3 separate regions of the Homo sapiens genome follow, and regions 1 and 2 are each linked to region 3. The links are contacts of gene promoters, found by promoter capture Hi-C in blood cells and fetal thymus (Javierre and others, 2016). All regions are on one chromosome and are shown on one strand. The core of a region is centred on a gene start or on the middle of the fragment in contact, and the rest is flanking DNA. Distances in the headings are between cores, read along the strand shown. Region 1 has its middle 19 kb from the start of SNORA7B. Region 2 overlaps IFT122 (intraflagellar transport 122). Region 3 holds the start of EFCAB12 (EF-hand calcium binding domain 12).

Region 1 (2,700 bases), core at 175-2,674, 50 kb after region 3:
GGGTGTGAAGAGGTGAGGTTTTCCTTTTGATTCAGTTCTAGGAAGTCAGCATGAATCGGCCTTAGGTTCCCTCCCTCCAGACCCTATTCTCCTGCGTCATGCGGGAACAAGAACGAGTCTGAGTTTGGCCGGGACATCTTCAACAAGGAAAGGCCTTGCCCTTGTTTTAGGCCAGCCAGTGTGCTTCGGGGGCCTGCATCTCTCCTGGCTTCCTGGGCAGGAAAGAGCAGTCACCTGGGACCTCTGTGCTAATGGTTCCCAAATGTGGATGTGGAAGTGCTGTTTTCTCTGTTTGGGGTCTTTATCTTTGAAATTTCCAGTCCCATCTTTTAGTTTTAGTATTGAAGGCAAGTTTTTTCTCTTTAAGCTTGTGTAAACCAAAAGTAAAACTCTAAGCCCTCTGTGCCTCCATTGAATGAACCCCTCCCCTTGGAGAAGGGGAATTCCAAAAAACCCCTAAAAAACTAGTTCCAACCATCATGGGCATAAGGGGTCAGACTTGCCTCATTTTACCCTCCTCCCTTTAGAGTTTAGACACAATAGACCAGTATTAACAAGAAAACTGGGGTCTCAAGACTGACAAAACAGACTCTGTAGCAATGAGGCAGGATAGTACAGTCTGGAGGCAAGGAACTTAAGGCCAATTCATGCTGAATCAAGGAAAAACACCAAGGTCTGGGGGGAAGCAGGGAATCTGAGGCCAATTTGTGCTGACTTCCCAAAGCTGGATCAAAAGGGAAACACCTGGGTCTGGAGGCAGGGGCCCTAAGGCCAGTTAATGCCAACTTCCTGAAGCTAAACCGAAAGGAAAAACCCAGCTCCCCATGCCTTAGTAGCAAAGGGTCAAAGGTTACTCTTTCTACAACCCTCCCCCTTCCACCATGGCTTAGACAAAAAGGGAGAGTGGCTTGGAGTGGCCACAGGCCAAGCAGGGACCATCCCTTCATCTGCATAGGGTGCCATTCACCTCAGTGTTTACTTAGCCACAGACCAAATCCTTCAACTATATAAGGGGTAACTGATAGGAACCTCAAAAGGAGTGCTTGAAACCCAGAAAACTTTGTAACTGGGCCCTTGAGCTGCTCGGGCCCAGTCCCACCCTGTGGCGTACCTTCTCTCTTTTATAAATCCCTGATTTTGGTACTTCGATCCTGTGTTTCATTCCTTTGTTACTTAGTGCATTTTGTCCAGTTTTTTGTTCAAAACACCAAGAACCTAGACAACTTACACCCAAGGCCCTCCTTCCAGTAACAGCAATAGAACACCGTATTTCAACATGATTCTGATATACCATTGATGGCAGTGGCTGCTCCAGATCACTGTGTTTTGGACAATGAAATGTAGCCAACTGTTCAACTGTAGCTCCCAGCTGCAGCAGGGAGACGTGGCTGGGGTTGCACACTCCATGAAGCCCTTCCAAGTTGGGGTGGGAGCTCCCCAGGTGCCACTGCAGCTGCCCAAACCATTGGGTTGCAGACCTGGGCCTCCCACTCCACAGAGCAGGCAGGAGCCCTGCCCTCCGGGGCAGGGCTGTAGCTGCCCAACTTGTGGCTGCAGGTCTGAGCCTCCCTGTGCTCTTGGGAGGCCAGGAGCAAGCAGGATCCCTGCCCTCCCAGGCACAGCTGTAGCTGCCTAAACCATGGCTGCAGACTCAGGCACCCCTGCACTCTTGAGGGCCAGGAAGCATCCCTTCCCCTTGCAGGCTCAGCAGTGCCTGCTCCCATTGCCTGGCTTCTCCCTGCTGTTGTTGCCCACTCCAATCTTGGAGGAATGTTGGGGCCAAGCTCAGGTGTCATGAAGGCAGCAGGAGGCAGACAGATTCCTGGATGGAAGGGGGCCGGTCCCCAGTGAGGCCCCACCTTCAGGCCAGGGAGGGTCTGAAGGCTGGGAACCAAGGCTGCCAGTCTCATGGACTGGACTGGGAACTTGTGGTGCCTTTTCCAGGCCCACCCAAGTACCAATCAGCATACACTTTTTCCCCTCTGAGGCCCATAAAAACCCCAGGTTCAGCCAGAGCTAAGCAGACTATGGGATGACCAGCTGCAGAGAAGAGCTACCCTTTCTGCTGAGAGCTTCACAGGCCTGCAGAGATGTTGGGACTACCAGCTTCAGAGAGGAGCAACCCACTCCAGGGCTTCCTCTCTGCTAGGAGTTCGGCAGATGTCAGGACGACCAGTAGAGAGTGGAGCTACCCTCTCCAGGGGCTCCAATCTACTGAGAGCTGCAGAGACAATGAGATGAACTGCCTGCAGAGAGGAGCCACCCTCCCAGGGCCTCCTCTCTGCTGAGAGCTGAACACTCCACAGGACCACCTGCCTACAGAGAGGAGCTACCCATTGTGGGTCTCCTTATGCCCATGATGGTTGGAACTAGTTTTTTTTCATGACAGCATCATGAAACAGTAGGCCCTTAAGGAAATCAAAGTATTTTACCCCAAAATATATTTTGTTGACATATTTTGAAATGGGCCTGCAAAGCTTTCTCTTGTGTGGGAAAATTTGCATTCTGTAGAGAATCTCCTTCTCTTACTAGGTCTTTTCTGGAGAGGCTGACACTTTTTAAGGTCAGACAAGAGACATTTGCCATCTATTCTCTCTGAAGTTTGCTACCTGAAGGCTTCATCTACATGAAAAGAACCTGGGCTTGGCTGGGCACTGTGGCTGACACCTGTAGTCCCAGCACTTTGGGAGGCCGAGGTGG
Region 2 (2,700 bases), core at 100-2,599, 62 kb before region 3:
GAGGTTATACCACCCAGCGAGGCATGGCTTTATCCATGGGATTGGACCATGTAAAGAACAGCAAAGACATCCCAGTTGCATCAGTCATTTTGAGATCAGGTAAAACAAAACCGTGATGCCACAGTCTGTGGCGGTGCCTCCTTGGGAGACTCTAGACCCAAAGAAGAACAAGCCGGTCTGACCCTCTGGGGGGTCACGCAGCATCACAGCAGGAGAGGATGAGATGCATGGACTGATGAGAGACTGCCTATACATCTTGGCAACATGGGTAGAATGCAGGGGACAGCTATGCCTACCCAGTGGTGCCACAGACACAGGGGACCCAGAGCCCCTGGTACCACAGAGGGAGCAGAGGAGGGGAAAGCTGAGAGGGTATAAAGACAGATTCTGGAAGAAGGTGGAGGGGTAGGGAATGAATCCCACCAAGTCTGTGGAAGGCAAACTCTTTATGTAAACCCTAAAATTGCAGCCCTTGCCTTGAACTCACAGTAAAGCCAGAGACTTTAACTCATGGACCTCTAGAAGTTTCTGAGGAACAAGCAGACTGGTGTTAGCTAAGCTAGTTTTGCTGCTTTCAGATTCTGCCCAGGGTTTGGAGGAGCACAAGCCACCAGGTCAGGCTGCTTTCAGGTGGCTTTGCTGTCACCATTTATTGCCCCATTCAAAATGGGCTGACCTGTGCCTAGAGGAGGCAGCAGCTCCAGAGCCCTTTGAACTGAACACGCAGAGCAATCCTGACCACTTGCAGCCTCTGCTCAGCAGCATGGCATCCTCCCTCCTGAAAAGACCTCGGGAGATGAGCAAGTCCCCGGCCTGCCTTGCAGGTGACCACAATGCAACTTTATCTTTTCATCCCACAGGACCAGGCTTCCTGTCAAGAGACTGAGGACCCAGGGAGAAACATGTCTCGGCCCCTGTCCCCCTCCACAATTCAGAGGTCCACATTCTAACAGGGAAAGCTGGTCAATTAAACAGATCATGACACCTCCCAGAGCTAAGAGCTCTCCAACTACGAACCACATGCCTGGAGAACACGGATGAATGGTCTGAGCATGAGCAGGGGTGGGAGGCAGCGTTAAGGGAGGCATCAGAGTCAGAACCTGGCAAACAAGTGTTTGTGAAGAGGAATTCGTAGAAAAGGGCAATGCGGGCATCACATGGGCCAAGGAACACAGGGCTAAGACTACCTGTGTCCCAAGCTGTAGGTCTTACACATCACCCTCTAGATCTGGGTTTCCTTAAAGCGCCTTGAGAGGGCAACCCTGCAAAGCCCAGCACAGTGGCCAAGAGGGAAAGGAGCATTCGAGGTCTGAGTCCTCGCTCTGAGCCTACTTCTCTGCTTCTGGGCTCCAACCATCTTCTTTGTGGAAAGGGGCCTGCTACTGACACCCTCTCAAGGGTCTTTCTAGCTGTAGCTCAGCTGTGCTAGTGTCTAGGATTTGCCCATTAATAAATCTGTTTCCGAGTTCCTTCAACCTGACACATTTTGCAGCGTCAGGGTGCCTGGTCAGAGTCACAAGGCCCCTGAATGAGCTCAGCAGAGGGAAGCCTGGGAATAGGGAGGAACCTGCAGCTCTGCTCAGGGTCTGGCGGGAGCTCAGCAGCTCTTCTCTGCCATCTAGTGGGGATGGCTGTCCATCTCTAGGAACCACTATATCCAAGCTGGTGAGCCTGAGTGCCTGGCACAGAGTAAAGAGGTGGGGTACTCGGGATTTAGATGAAATAGTAACATCCAGCCTATCTTCAATATCATGTGGCTTTTTCAAAACAGCATGTTGTACACAATAGATATATACCACATACACTTACTTTTCAACTATAGTAAATCTGGCTGGGTGTGGTGGTTTATACCTGTAATCCCAGCACTTTGGGAGGCTGAGGCAAGAAGACTGCTTGAGCCCAGGAGTTCAAGACCTGCCTGGGCAACACAGTGAGTCCCCGTCTCAATATTTAAACAAATATATAAAAATATATATATTTATAAAAATATCAGTAAACACTCATATTAAACCTTGTGGCTTTTTACAATCCTTTCTATTCTAGGGATTTGTCGTCTCCCTCCCTGCTGGCATTTCTGGGTGGGGCAGGAGAGGGAAGCTCCCTCCATAGAGATGCCTCCTCCCTCCTCTGAATTCTTTTTTTTTTTTTTTTTTAAGTCAGAGTCTTGCTCTATGGCCCAGGCTGGAGTGCAGTGGCACCATCTCGGCTCACTGCACGCTCCGCCTCCCAGGTTCACGCCATTCTCCTGCCTCAGCCTCCGGAGTAGCTGGGACTACAGGCGCCTGCCACCATGCCCGGCTAATTTTTTGTATTTTTAGTAGAGACGGGGTTTCACCGTGTTAGCCAGGATGGTCTCGATCTCCTGACCTTGTGATCCGCACACCTCGGCCTCCCAAAGTGCTAGGATTTACAGGCGTGAGCCACCGCGCCTGGCCCCTCCTCTGAATTCTTACAGCCTCCTCCATCTCCACTTTCCTACACTGAGGACATCTAAAAATATAATCTAGATCATTGTTACACAACGATCACTTCCCTTGTTTAGTAATGGCTAGCATCTGCACAACCATCCCTGATTTAAATTCCCCTTTACAACATCTCAGTTAAGCCTCATGACTGCAGCGGGCATTCTCACCACCCCCATTTCAGAACTGGGAGGACTGGGGCTCCAAGGAAAGTGGCTGGCCTGAGGTCCCAGAGCCC
Region 3 (2,700 bases), core at 27-2,526:
AACCTTGGGCCCAGCTGGGCCTGGAGGGTGGGGCGAGCTCACCAAGCTCAGGGCATCAGGTGTGGCTTTGTGGTAGGGCTGGTGGTCACATACCTTCCCCCAGCATCTCCATGGGGAGTGTGGGCCCGTGTGAATGCAGGAGGCGAGCTCTGCACCAGGGGAGCTCAGGACACAGCCAGGTTGCTCAGGCTCTAGGCCTGGCTTTTCCTGTTTCTTGCAGGTGAGGTTGCCTGACCTCTGTACCTGTTAACTTGTCTTTTAAAAATGGGATAGTGGTGTCTACCTCACACAATGATGGTAATTATGAAGTTCAGACATGTAGTGCTAAAATGGTACCTGGCTTGCAAGAGTGCTGTGTGAATGTGGCCCATGGCAACAATCTGTTTGCAAGCGTCACAAAGATAGCTTGTCTCAGCAAAGGAATAAGGGCTTAGGTGTTTCTCTTTAACTTTTTAAAAATTGAGCTAAAAGCCACCATTTAACCATTTTAAAGTGTACAGTTCAGTGGTTTAGTACATTTACAGTGTGCAGCCATCATCACTAATTCCAGAAGTTTCCATTTCTTTTTTCCACTCCAAAAAGAATCTCTCCACCTGTTAGCAGTCACTTCAATTACTCACCCCATCCCCTAGCAACCATTCATCTACTTTCCGTGTCTGTGGGTTCGTCTATGCTGAACATTTCACATAAATGGAATCATACAGCACGTGGCCTTTTGTGTCTAGCTTCTTGCTTAGCATACTGTTTTGAAGGTTTATCCATATTGTAGCATGTACTTCATTCCTTCTTATGGCCATCCTATGGATATACCTCATTTTGCTTATCAGTTGATGCACATTTCAAGGGTTTATTATTATTCTCTGGTCCTCAGGTTCTGTAACTCCAAACCATGGCACCCTGCCATAAGCGGGGCAGAACATACCCAACACCTCTATCTGGCCACAGCTCACTTTGGTTCTTCCTAACCCTCTGGAGGAGGCAGGGCCTATTTTTCCTATGAGAAAACTGAGGCCTAGAGATATGGAGACCTGCGGAAGATCCCACATTTCACGGGAAAACCGGAGACTTTCTACACTGGATTCAGGGACTACTGGGCCGAACAAAGAAATCCCGCCTTTCACCAAGCCCAGAACTGGGCGGGGCGTGGATTTGCTCGCTGCCCCTCCCAGAATTGGACGAAAACGAGGTGGGGCCAGCAGGCGCTCGGCAGGGCGGGCTCGCTCTTAACACGTGACAGCGCTCAGCCAATTGGCGCGGGGCGTCCGTAGCCACGGCAACAGGTTGCTTCTGCAGTCTGAGCTGAGCGCCTTTCGCACGACTTGGAGTTACGGTTTATCTGATACCCCGGTACCCCTACGCAAGCAAGCCCACATCGACACACATTCACACACGCCCTTCAGCACCCCCTCCCAGCACCACGACCATGGACGACGACTATGAAGCGTACCACAGTCTGTTCTTGTCGCTGCTCGGTAAGCCCCGGGAAGAAGCGTCTGCAGGGAGCGCTCAGCGCCCTAAGGACGCGTGAAAGTGGGGTGAGGGCAAAAACTCAGCCACAGATATTGTGCCGACCCCCTCTGGGTGAAGGGTTGCCATGGAGTCGGGGGCAGGTCATGTACATTTCTGAGATTTCTATCTGAGCCTAGTTGGAGGAACCAGAGGCCCGACCCATGTGACGGGAGCCCTCCAGCTCGCCCTGTTTCTCTGCAGGACATTAATGTATTCAGTACTGGAGGAGAGGCATGGAGAAGACGTCAGTCTTCAAGGTTTTGGCAGTAATGTGCTGGGGACCAAGTTCTTGGCAAAGCAATGCAGCTTCACGGGTAAAGGACAGAGATAAATGGATAATTACAGAATAAGAAGGGGTAAATGCCGGGCCCAGGGATGACACCCAGGAGTAAAAGGTGTGCTGAGGGTATGGGATGGGGAGGAACAGTTCCAAGCTTTTGGAAAAGATCTTTACACTGGAGCTTAAAGGATAAAAAGGAGTTCTCCAAGCCAAAAGGGGAAGGAAAAGCATTTCGGGCAAGGAAACAGCATGACCCAAGAGGTCTGGTGTCTCTGGAAATGAGGTGAGAGAGGTCAGAAGGGACAAGATCATAAAAGATACTGCAAGCCAGGAGATGGAGAGGCCACTGGGAGTGGCAGGACTGGATTGGGAGCAGTCAGAAAAGACCTGAGACTGAGTTGGCAGACTCAGAATGTTGGTGTGGGGAGATGAGAGCTGGGGGCTATAAAGCTTGAAGACTGAAGGTCTTCTCCATGCCGCTTCTCCAGCACTGAACACATTAATGCCCAGTGGAGAAACAGGGAGAGCTGGAGAGGCTGGCCACCTTTCCCAGGCACACAGGTCAGGGCTCTGGTCAAATGCCCAAGCTAAAGATGCTGGGAGGTGAGGGAGAAGGCCCAGGCTAGAGGGAACTACGGGACTTGGGGGCTGGTTGGTCAGGAAACACAGAAGAGGCAAATAAAGATGGTTCTCAAGTTGGCAGCTGGGGGACCTGGTAGATGGAGATGTCTTCCACAGAGATAAGAGAACGTACTCAGAGGACCCAGTTAGTGGGGGAAGGGGCACAAAGACAAATCCAGTCTTGGTTGGTTGAGTTTAAGATCCTTGTCAGTAGCTGGGCACAGTATCTCACGCCTGTAATCCCAGCACTATGGGAAGCTGAGGCAGGAGGATTGCTTGAGCCCAGGAGT

Evidence for each region. The method cuts DNA at HindIII sites, captures the fragments that hold promoters and counts their contacts. A CHiCAGO score of 5 or more calls a contact.
Region 1: a fragment that was not itself captured here is called in contact with the fragment with the promoter of EFCAB12 in region 3 in 1 of 17 cell types (endothelial precursors); the score reaches 8.2 in endothelial precursors.
Region 2: a fragment that was not itself captured here is called in contact with the fragment with the promoter of EFCAB12 in region 3 in 1 of 17 cell types (M2 macrophages); the score reaches 5.7 in M2 macrophages.

The regions. Positions count from the first base shown.
Region 1 is chr3:129,377,257-129,379,956 of GRCh38, reverse strand. No RefSeq gene overlaps it. Among named protein-coding and RNA genes, the nearest start is that of SNORA7B, 19 kb to the left of the region's middle. The HindIII fragment of the contact is 2,110 bases long and covers 370-2,479 here.
Region 2 is chr3:129,489,292-129,491,991 of GRCh38, reverse strand. The region is part of intron 16 of IFT122 (intraflagellar transport 122); the gene reads right to left. Among named protein-coding and RNA genes, the nearest start is that of RHO, 38 kb to the left of the region's middle. RefSeq lists silencers at 1,630-1,699, 2,106-2,314 and an enhancer at 1,412-1,706. The HindIII fragment of the contact is 8,041 bases long and covers 1-2,700 here.
Region 3 is chr3:129,427,212-129,429,911 of GRCh38, reverse strand. It overlaps EFCAB12 (EF-hand calcium binding domain 12), which reads left to right and starts at 1,276. Exons shown (of 9, transcript NM_207307.3): 1 at 1,276-1,472. The coding sequence starts at 1,424. RefSeq lists a silencer at 1,090-1,139. The HindIII fragment of the contact is 3,479 bases long and covers 1-1,945 here.